Regions from separate parts of the Homo sapiens genome. Here regions 2 and 3 are each linked to region 1. The links are contacts of gene promoters, found by promoter capture Hi-C in blood cells and fetal thymus (Javierre and others, 2016). All regions are on one chromosome and are shown on one strand. The core of a region is centred on a gene start or on the middle of the fragment in contact, and the rest is flanking DNA. Distances in the headings are between cores, read along the strand shown.

What was found. The method cuts DNA at HindIII sites, captures the fragments that hold promoters and counts their contacts. A CHiCAGO score of 5 or more calls a contact.
Region 2: a contact is called between a fragment that was not itself captured here and the fragment with the promoter of OR8B12 in region 1, in 1 of 17 cell types (erythroblasts). The highest score is 6.0, in erythroblasts.
Region 3: a fragment that was not itself captured here is called in contact with the fragment with the promoter of OR8B12 in region 1 in 1 of 17 cell types (total B cells); the score reaches 6.5 in total B cells.

Annotation. Positions count from the first base shown.
Region 1 is chr11:124,541,859-124,545,367 of GRCh38, forward strand. OR8B12 (olfactory receptor family 8 subfamily B member 12) reads right to left here and starts at 1,796. Exons shown (of 1, transcript NM_001005195.1): 1 at 864-1,796. The coding sequence starts at 1,796. The coding sequence ends at 864. The HindIII fragment of the contact is 5,500 bases long and covers 1-2,763 here.
Region 2 is chr11:123,949,065-123,952,573 of GRCh38, forward strand. No RefSeq gene overlaps it. Among named protein-coding and RNA genes, the nearest start is that of OR6T1, 7.0 kb to the left of the region's middle. The HindIII fragment of the contact is 584 bases long and covers 1,693-2,276 here.
Region 3 is chr11:124,027,673-124,031,181 of GRCh38, forward strand. OR10G8 (olfactory receptor family 10 subfamily G member 8) reads left to right here. Exons shown (of 2, transcript NM_001004464.2): 2 at 1,924-2,962. The coding sequence starts at 1,951. The coding sequence ends at 2,886. Among named protein-coding and RNA genes, the nearest start is that of OR10G8, 2.6 kb to the left of the region's middle. The HindIII fragment of the contact is 280 bases long and covers 1,515-1,794 here.

The DNA.
Region 1 (3,509 bases), core at 546-3,045:
TCTCAACATTATTTACTTCGCCTCGAAAACTTCCAGACCCTTAGTTGATTATCCTAAGCCACATATTTCTCCATCACAGCTCAAACACCCAAACTAACCCTTGAAAAAGCTCTACATTCTGATTCTTTAAGTTTTCAAATGAATGTATGATTTCTACTCAGCATCTTTATAACCCTTAATCCTATGGAAGTCCTAATTCCCTAGACTGGGTTCCTAGGGTTCCACACAACCTCAATCTTAACTCAATGTCAGTCACATTCTACAAACTTGACACAATTCTCTTCTCATTTGGTGAAGACCAACTTAAGAAAATGTTTCATCTTCTATCCTCTTGAAAAAAAATGAAATATTTAAAAATTATTTATTGAGAGGTCACATTAAATTACTATGAATAGAATTAGGTTTTAATGTGTTAAGTTTTCTTACTTTTAAAAGGATATCTGCAAGGGCAGCAATGAAGCATGAAAAAATGACATAAAGAAAAAAAAAGCAGCCTGGAATTCAAGGACCTGGATTCCATTCCCAGTTGTGGCACCAAGTAGTTGTGTGTCCTTGAGCAACATATGTATTTCTGAGTCTCCAACACATGTTAATTGAAGAGACTAGATTAAATAATGTGTAAGGCCAATTCACGATTAAATGGTCTATGATTATAGAAAAATTTGCATAAAATGAAGAAATCCTGGAATAACTAGGTGAAGCAGAGACAGGGAGAATATGTCTGCACTTAACACTCATCCAAATGTAAAGATTTAAAATTCTTTTTCTGTACAAGACAGGAAAAAAATGGAACTTGAATCTCACTGAAAACACACACTAATAAGCAAAGCATTGTATCTCCTTCCTCCAATACTAATCCTTTCTTAAGAAAAGATTTTTCTGCCCAAAGTTCTCCTCAGGGCAACTTTGACATCCTTGTTCCTCAAGCTATAGATTAATGGGTTTAACACGGGGACTATTATGGTATAGAACAGGGAGGACACTTTCCCTTGCTCGAGGGGCAGGATGGAAAGGGGTTTGAGATACATGAAAGCACCAGAACCAAAGAAAAGAGAAACTACAATTATGTGGGAACTGCAAGTACTAAAGGCTTTGGACCTGCCTTCTGTAGAACTGTTGTGTAGAATGCTGGAGAGGATGAGGGCATAAGAAATAAAGACAGTGACAATGGGCATTCCAACGTCAACAGCCACCACAATAAAGACCACCAGCTCATTCATGTAAGAGCTGTTGCAGGAGAGCTCAAGGAGAGGAAGGATGTCACACATGAAATGATTGACAAGGTTGTCAGCACAGAAGGTCAGGTTCATTATGCTTCCTGTGTGGGCCATGGCCCCAGCAAACCCCATCCCATAGGCACCCAACAAAAGGAGCAAACACACCTGGCAAGACATGGTGACTGTGTACAACAGTGGGTTACAGATGGCCACGTAGCGGTCATACGCCATCGCTGACAGGATGAAGGACTCAGAGACGACAAAGAAGCAGAAGAAGAAGAGCTGAGTCATACACCCTGTGAAGGAAATGATGTTCTTCCTTGAGACAAAACTCATCAGCATTTTGGGAGTGATGGTAGTGGAGAAACAGAAATCTATTAAAGAGAGGTTAAAAAGGAAGAAGTACATGGGAGTGTGCAGGTGAGAGTTCAGCCCAATCAGGGTTATCAAGCCCAGGTTCCCCACCACGGTGACCGTGTAGAAACCCAGAAACAGGAAGAAGAGGGGGATCCGCAGTCCCGGCTGGTGGGTTAAGCCTTCGAGGATAAACTCTGTCACAGAAGAGTTTTTGGCTGCCATTCTTTTTGGTCAGGCAGGAGAGTCGGAGGGGACAAGAGAAGAGGACCACTTAGAAAGAAACATCACCACCACATTCTTAGTCTCTATCTCCCATTCTTAGAAAAGGAATCCAAGGAGAGAGATTTGAACTTTGGTAGGAAGGTTTTTACCACTCACTGTGGGTCTATCTTCACAGTCCGAGTGATTATAACTCCCAAAGTGTAATATGAGACTCAACTGTAACTGCAGAATGAGAGCTGGATCTGCTGAAGAAAGGGGTACCAAAAATAATCCAAATGTCTTTTAGATCCTTAGGTCAGTCCCTTTTCTATATCTTTCCCTCTCCTGTCTCTGCTTCACTTGGTAAAACCTGGACCTCTTCCCTGAAGGGAATCCTGAGATGCAGAAGCCACAGTGGCTCTGCTCAGAGCTTCCACCTCTGGGTCCACACTGTCAGATTAAGTAGGTGAGCTCATGCTTTTCCAAGATCTCTTAGCTCAAGTGGCTGTACATTTAATAATTTTTTAAAGCTGACACTTATTGAGTGGTTACTATAAGAGGTTCTGTTTGAAGAGCCATGTAGCAATATTATTATCTTCATTTTACAGATGAAACAAGTAAGATGACATAACTAGACAAAAGTCCCCAAACCACCTGCAGCCAGAAGGTGAATTTCGGCAGTATGGCTCAAATGGCTTGCACTTGAAATCACCATGTTACATAAGTGACCAGCATCGGGGCAGGCACTCACCTTCCTTCCCTTTAGAGCCATAAATGCTATACTCTACTGCCTCTTTTTCACATTCTGGGGAGGAAGATGACCCTAGTGAAGACAAGATGACAGATCTGAGCTCAAAGCCCTCTCTTCCCAGTACAGGTCAAAGGATCAGAACCTCTAATGTATCTCATAACACTTCCTGCACTGAAGGACATGACTTCCAATTGTTCATTTGCCCAAAGGCCTCTCCAGCTTCCAGGAAGGAGACAAAGCTTTTTCCTGACCAGTGAATAACAAAAGACTAAAGAGTTTTATTCTGGATTACAGACCTCAATGATCTGGCCATTAAGATAGAGACTCCCTCAAGACCACTTGCTTAGCAATTAGTTTCCCTAGAGAAGAAGAAATGTTTGTTTATCTCTTGGAATTGCTTGATTTGGCTTTCTACTAACATGTATCCTGTACTATTAAGAGAAAATCATTGTGAAAAAAATGATTGTCATTACCATTTCTTGAATACCCAATAATTTAGTACCTGACATAGTACCCTTATTCCAGCTGCCAAGATCCAGAGTACACATATACAAACATATCTTTATTTATTTCTCACAATACCTATTTTACAGGTAAGTTGCTCACAGAGACAAGATGTTTCAGAGTCCACAGGTATGCTTAGGTCTGTCTGACTCCAAGCCCCTTATGTAGCTGCTAGACTAAACTACCTCCCAAGGACAGCTACTGAAATCCATAAAGCAGAGCCCTTGCCTTCTTGGATCTGACAGTCTCTTGGAAAATAACAAGTAAATATTCAATGAATTTAAGTTTTAAAAGGAAGCAATTAGAGCCTGGAAAGGTTAACACAAAGGGCTATTGTAATTTAGAATAGGCTATTCAATAATTTATTCATATTCCACTCACCTCAGGAATTAATTGCACTACTCTAGTCCCAGCTCAGACAAGAACATACTTCTCTCGTTCCCCTCCCCTGTCCTCTCATGGAGTGTATGTTTAATGGT
Region 2 (3,509 bases), core at 735-3,234, 590 kb before region 1:
TTTCTCTGAAATTGTCTATTTTGGGCAGGGTACAATGTCTTGTGATCTCTCAAATGTAATAGGTTACCAATTGCTCCTCTGTATGTAAAACCTTATCTTTCCATGAAACTTCAGTGAGTACTTTAAAGATAAACTTTCCAAAAGCTGGAAGCTTCTTAACTCAGTCCCTAGTGAAAAAGAAAGTTGTTAGGGTCATTTTCTGGATACTCAAAATATGCAAATCAGAGCTTCTCATAATGCAGTGCTGTACTTTATGGGCTCAAGTGTTGGTTTATCTGTGCAGAACTCAATAGCTGAGGATATAAATGAAGAGCTGTCATTCCTATCTTCCATCAGTAAATAGAAATTGTATAGCTGTGTACAATAAAATGTATCATAGTTTTAGTACTCTAAATCTTTATGCCTTAAATTACTTATAAACAAAACTCCTTGATTCCAATGAGTCCAGTTTTAAGTCAAGAATAAAAATAAATTTTGGATATATGAAGTTGCCTGACATAGGAGGTGATATAAGTTATCTCCTTTACCTGTTCCAATACTGCATTTCTTAGGCTTCTTCCCCTGGCCAGTTTGAGGAATGTGCACTCAAAAGTTCTATCAGGATCCTGTTTATGTTCAATGGAGCACACAGAAGGCTTCTTGAATCTGCAGTTCTTTATGCTTCAAGTAATACCAAGCAAAACTCCTTCTCAGTGTTGAAAGAGAAGTTACTATAAATTTGCATGATTATTTCTTTGTACCTCCAATCAATTAAAATTTACTTTAACTTGCTTTGAATGGAAATCTCAAAAGGGAATAACTTTGACCAAAGTTCTCTAAAAGTAAACTAATGTAATTAGTCCTTCAAGGCTTTAGGGGGTGAGACGTTTGAGATTTGTCATAGAGTATGAACTGTACTTCTTCAAAAAAAGATAGAGCTACTTCTTGTGTACAGAAGTAGTAGAAAACTTGTTACTGTATTTGAACTTTAAGAAATTCTCTTAAGCTAGGTAGTGACTCAGTGAGGCCTTGGGTATCTTGACGATGTAATGAAATTATAACAAATATATCCATATATATTTATCCATATATATATGGATATATATTTATCCGTATATATATCCATATATATTTATCCATATATATATGGATATATATTTATCCGTATATATATCCATATATATATGGATATATTTGAATATATATATATGATCAGTGTTAATTTGAAAATCCAATCTTTTTTTTTTTCAATGAGCATTGAACATTGAGTCACATACTAATTATGGTATATAATACTTGGCATGAACTTGGGTAAGTTACTTAAATTCCTAGCTTCAGTTTCTTCATCTGTAAAATGGGTTTCATAGGATCTTTAAGAGAAATAATTGTGTATAATTTGCACCCAGGTGATCAACGGAGATGAGAAAAAATATTTGAATCTTGCTCATTATCAAGAAGTTCAAATAAAAATTATCTTCTCATTTATATACATTCAATAAGCTCAAAGTATCTACTTATCAAATTATCTGCGTACTTCACCCCTTTCCCACCAAAATGTTGAACTTGTAGTTCATCAAAACCATACTGTAAACTGTTATGAGTTTACCTTTCTAGACGTGGTTATATTGAAATATTTTGCATGCACTGAAGTGTAAAATGAATGAAAAATGTTGGATTAAAAGAGATTCAATAAAAATCTAAAGAATATTTAAAAGCTTTATTAATGATTGTCTAACCTTGATTGGAATTTTAAAATGTGAAGTTATGTCAAAATGTGTAGTAGGGATTTTTATTTGCACTAAATTATGTTTTTTTCTCCTTCCCTAGAAGCCATTTTATGCTACTCTTAGGACATCATATGCTAAAGATATTATGGCTTAAAATAGATAATGGACAATGTTACACTGATGAGAATTATCTGTGTAAAGAAAGTTTTCAGTCATTCTAGGATTTCCAAACCTTGTCTTCTTAAATATGATAGAATGGTAAGTTCAATAAAAACTATCCATGTTCTGTGGGGAAAGGGGGTCAGTGAAGAGCCAGCCTTGCTGTCCTTTTCAGGAATTAGATAAAGTGTGCCTTAAGAGTGTCAAATACAGGTCTGGGCACTATGGGCACACTATTTCCACCTTTATTCTACCTTTCCTGCTGGGTCAACTTGCTACAGAACTGGGAGTCAATCCTGGAGTTCTAGTCTAAAACTCACTTCCTAAGCACACCTGGTGATTTTGTAAGCACTTAATTCTCTATTCTTTCTTGCTTAAAATAGCTAAAATCATTTCCGTTTCCTTCACTGAAGCTTAAATAATATAAATGCCAATGAGGAGGGACTTCTGTGAACTATGACAATAATCATCTTATCCAGAGGATATTTTGGTGTCCTACTTGTTCTGAAAGCTTCCCCTATAGAACAGCCAAGAAACAAGAAATGAGTTCAAAATAGAGTGCTCATTAACACATCTAATGATATCTACATTCATCTTGAGAAATAATGCCCCTATGTGACAATACTTCATCTTAGGAAAAAAAAAAAAAGGATATTAATCTGAGAGGGGTTTGGTATCATTGTTATTTTTTAAAAAGTGGATTTTTAAAAATTTTCTTTAAACATTTTTTACATGCCTACTTAATATGGTTAATCCATATGAATGGGTTAGGAAAAACTGAAATGTCTACTGATTAACTGAGTTACCTCAAAAACTAAACTGCAGCATTAAATTATTCTAAGATGTTACCCAAATCGAGAATATGTGTTGAATTACATAAAGTATGTAGCATTCCAGATCCTTTTCTTGAATCTCTTCTCCTAAACAAGATAACTTATTGGCTGTTTAAATGCTCTTGTGGAATGTTTCTTATCTTTTCCTTTTTGCCATCAAAATATACCTTTATTTGTTACATGAGTAACATAAACATTAAAAAATAGTGTATTATTGATTTTGCCACAACACTCCCAGAACTATTAGCAACTTAAAAAAAGTTAGAAGTGACGAATAAGAGCATTACATATTGATATAGGGGTCAATTCAATAAGAAGAGCTAACTATCCTAAATATATATGCACCCAATACAGGAGCACCTATATTCAAAAAACATGTTTTTAGAGACCTAAAAAGAGACTTAGACTCTCACACAATAAAAGTGGGAGACTTTAACGCCATACTGTCAATATTAGACAGATCATTGAGACAGAAAATTAACAAAGACCTTCAGACCTTGAACTCAACTCTGGATCAAGTGGACCTGATATATATCTACAGATCTTTCCACCCCAAAACAACATAATACACATTCTTCTTGGCACCACGTGGCACTTACTCTAAAACTGATTACACAATTGGAAGAAAATCACTCCTCAGCAAATGCAAAAAAAAAAAAAAACCCTGAAATCATAACGAACTGTCTCTCAGACCACAGCACAATCAAATTAGAACTCAAGAGTAAGAATCTCACTCAAAACCACACAACTTCATGGAAACTGAACAACCTGCTCCTCAATGATTCCTGGGTAAATAATGAAGTTAAGGCAG
Region 3 (3,509 bases), core at 405-2,904, 510 kb before region 1:
TGATTGCAGTAATCTCCTTTCTGCTATTTATTTACATATTTCAAAAACCTTTCTTTAAACTAGCTTAAGCCACATTCCCTGGAGGTATCTTCTCTGGGATTTCTGAAGGGCAGAGATCATGGCTTCTCTCACACTGGTGAACAAGTTTCATAGTATTTGCCCACTGAACAATTAGTAAGACTCCTGAACTAAGACAATATTTTGTATTAATATTAATATTAAGCAAAGAACCTTATTTTGGCCCTGATTTCCATTATACAGAATCCCAGCTTCTCTTGACATCAAGGTGGCATAGATCCCTCTTCTTACATTGGTCCCGTTTTTCCTGTCTCAGATTCTAGGTCTTAATTAAGAGAGAGACTTGATGGAATTGTCTTCTTTGTGAGATCATTCATTACCTGGATTTATGAGAATGAGGAGTAAAGGAAGATGGTGGAGGCAACACATGATATCTAACAAAGCCAATATTAGAATATATTTAGAAACCTAGGGTAGAAGGAGTATGAAAGACAGCTGGCCTCTACCCAGTGGATTGTGTTTGGGAGAGCACATATGAATGCCATGTTCTCAGAACCACATAGGAAGTGTTCTAGGGTAGCAGAAATGGGGGCAGGGGACAGTTATGCATGAACCTTGATGCTCTCTGGATCATTTGGGAGGTCGTGGGAATCCCATTATGGAGTTGCGCTGAGATTCTTACCTGCTCTGAGAGACCAAGGACAAGCCCTTTGAAAGCAGGCAGTAGTGAGGACATCAGTAACAGTATCAGGCACAAAATAGTCCAAGAAGACCTAGCTCTTAGATTCAGAAGGACTCTCTGAAAACACTGAAAGAATATATGTACTCTCTTTCTTCCTAAGACCAAAACTGGAAATTCTGTAATACTGCTGCAAGGCATAATGTGATAAGACTCACTGTCATTTATTGAGCAGTTACTACCTGCCAGGCACAGTACTTAGTACTTTATATGTATCATCTTATTTAATGCTTATAACTTCTCAGTGAGGTAGGTGATGTTAGTAATGTCAAATAACATATGAGGAAACTAGAAAATGATTTAGCTGAACTGTTCAGTTTTCAAATATTCCCAGCCACTAACAATTAAATTCTTGGTGTTTTTTTTTAAGTTTTCCCATGAGCAAGGAAGCAAAAATGAATGTGGTAGGTAGAATTTGCAGTAGCCTTCAAGATTCCTGCTGTCTAGTATATGCTTTCCATTTAATAACCTTCCTTTGAGTATGCCTGGGACCTGTTAATATGATGGAATATCACCCCCGTGACTGCATTACATAACATTATGTAATACTTTGCCATAGCAAACTGGAGAGAGTCTGTCTCGTTGGTTTTGAAGAAGTAACCTGTGGTGTTTTAAGAAGGCCAAGTAGCTAGGACTTTCTTGGACCTAGGGTGACCTCAGTAAGTTGAGAGTTACGTGTCCTGCCAACAAACAGCAAGGAAACTGGAACCTGAGTCCTAAAACTGCAAGGAACCGAATCGTGCCAACAACCACAAGAAGCTTGGAGAATGATCCCCAACCTCAGATGAGATTGCAGGCCTTGGTGATATGTTGATTAAAACCTGATGAGAGCTAAACAGAGGGCCCAGCTGACCTGACCCACAGAGAGGGCGAGACAATAAATTTGCATGTTTTAAGCCAGTTAAGTTTGTGGTAATTTATACACCTATTAAAATCTAAGACAATGCGTTTCTCCTAATTTCTTCCGCATATGTCTCTGTGTGTGTGTATGTGAGACAGAGAAAGACTAGGAAATCACTTCATTAGTTTATGAAGGAAGCTTTGTTAACAAGCAAAGTCCACAATAACTCCAGAATTATCTACCTGCTTGATGCAGTTTCCACACAGAGAATGGATTCTCATTTCTCAATTAAGTGCTAAATGCTGGGTGCTCTTTATATTCCCAGAGGGAGAGAGACCAAGGGTGAGAAGAAATGTCCAACGCCAGCCTACTGACAGCGTTCATCCTCATGGGCCTTCCCCATGCCCCAGCGCTGGACGCCCCCCTCTTTGGAGTCTTCCTGGTGGTTTACGTGCTCACTGTGCTGGGGAACCTCCTCATCCTGCTGGTGATCAGGGTGGATTCTCACCTCCACACCACCATGTACTACTTCCTCACCAACCTGTCGTTCATTGACATGTGGTTCTCCACTGTCACGGTGCCCAAATTGCTGATGACTTTGGTGTTCCCAAGTGGCAGGGCTATCTCCTTCCACAGCTGCATGGCTCAGCTCTATTTCTTTCACTTCCTAGGGGGCACCGAGTGTTTCCTCTACAGGGTCATGTCCTGTGATCGCTACCTGGCCATCAGTTACCCGCTCAGGTACACCAGCATGATGACTGGGCGCTCGTGTACTCTTCTGGCCACCAGCACTTGGCTCAGTGGCTCTCTGCACTCTGCTGTCCAGGCCATATTGACTTTCCATTTGCCCTACTGTGGACCCAACTGGATCCAGCACTATTTGTGTGATGCACCGCCCATCCTGAAACTGGCCTGTGCAGACACCTCAGCCATAGAGACTGTCATTTTTGTGACTGTTGGAATAGTGGCCTCGGGCTGCTTTGTCCTGATAGTGCTGTCCTATGTGTCCATCGTCTGTTCCATCCTGCGGATCCGCACCTCAGAGGGGAAGCACAGAGCCTTTCAGACCTGTGCCTCCCACTGTATCGTGGTCCTTTGCTTCTTTGGCCCTGGTCTTTTCATTTACCTGAGGCCAGGCTCCAGGAAAGCTGTGGATGGAGTTGTGGCCGTTTTCTACACTGTGCTGACGCCCCTTCTCAACCCTGTTGTGTACACCCTGAGGAACAAGGAGGTGAAGAAAGCTCTGTTGAAGCTGAAAGACAAAGTAGCACATTCTCAGAGCAAATAGACACTAGGGAAGATTACATATCTTAGCTCTTGTGAATAGTGCTGTGAAAAACATACAGGGGCAGGTATCTTTTGGATGTAATGAATTCTTTTCCTTTGGGTAGATACCCAGTAGTGGAACTGCTAGATTAAATGTTAATTCTATTTTTAGTTCTTTGAGAAATCTCCACACTGTTTTCCATAGAGGTTGTACTAGTTTACATTCCCACCAACAGTGTATAAGTGTTCCCTTTTCTCTACAGCCTTGCTAACATCTGTTATTTTTTTATCTTTTTAATAATGGTGATTCTGACTGATTTTGTGGCTTTAATTTGCATTTCTGTGATGATTATTGATGTTGAGCATTTTTTCATGTGCCTGTTAATCACTTATATGTTTTCTTTTGAAAAATGTCTATTCATTTCCTTTACCAACCTTTTAATGAGATTATTTGCTTTTCATTGTTAAGTAATTTGAGTTCTTTGTAAATTCTGGATATGAGTCCCTATTGGATGCATAGTTTGCAAATATTTTCTCCCATTCTGTTATTTCTGTTGATTATTTCTTTTGCTGTGCAGAAGCTTTTTAGTATAAGTGTTATTTGTCGATTTTAATTTTTGTTGCCTGTGCTTTTGAGGTCTTAGT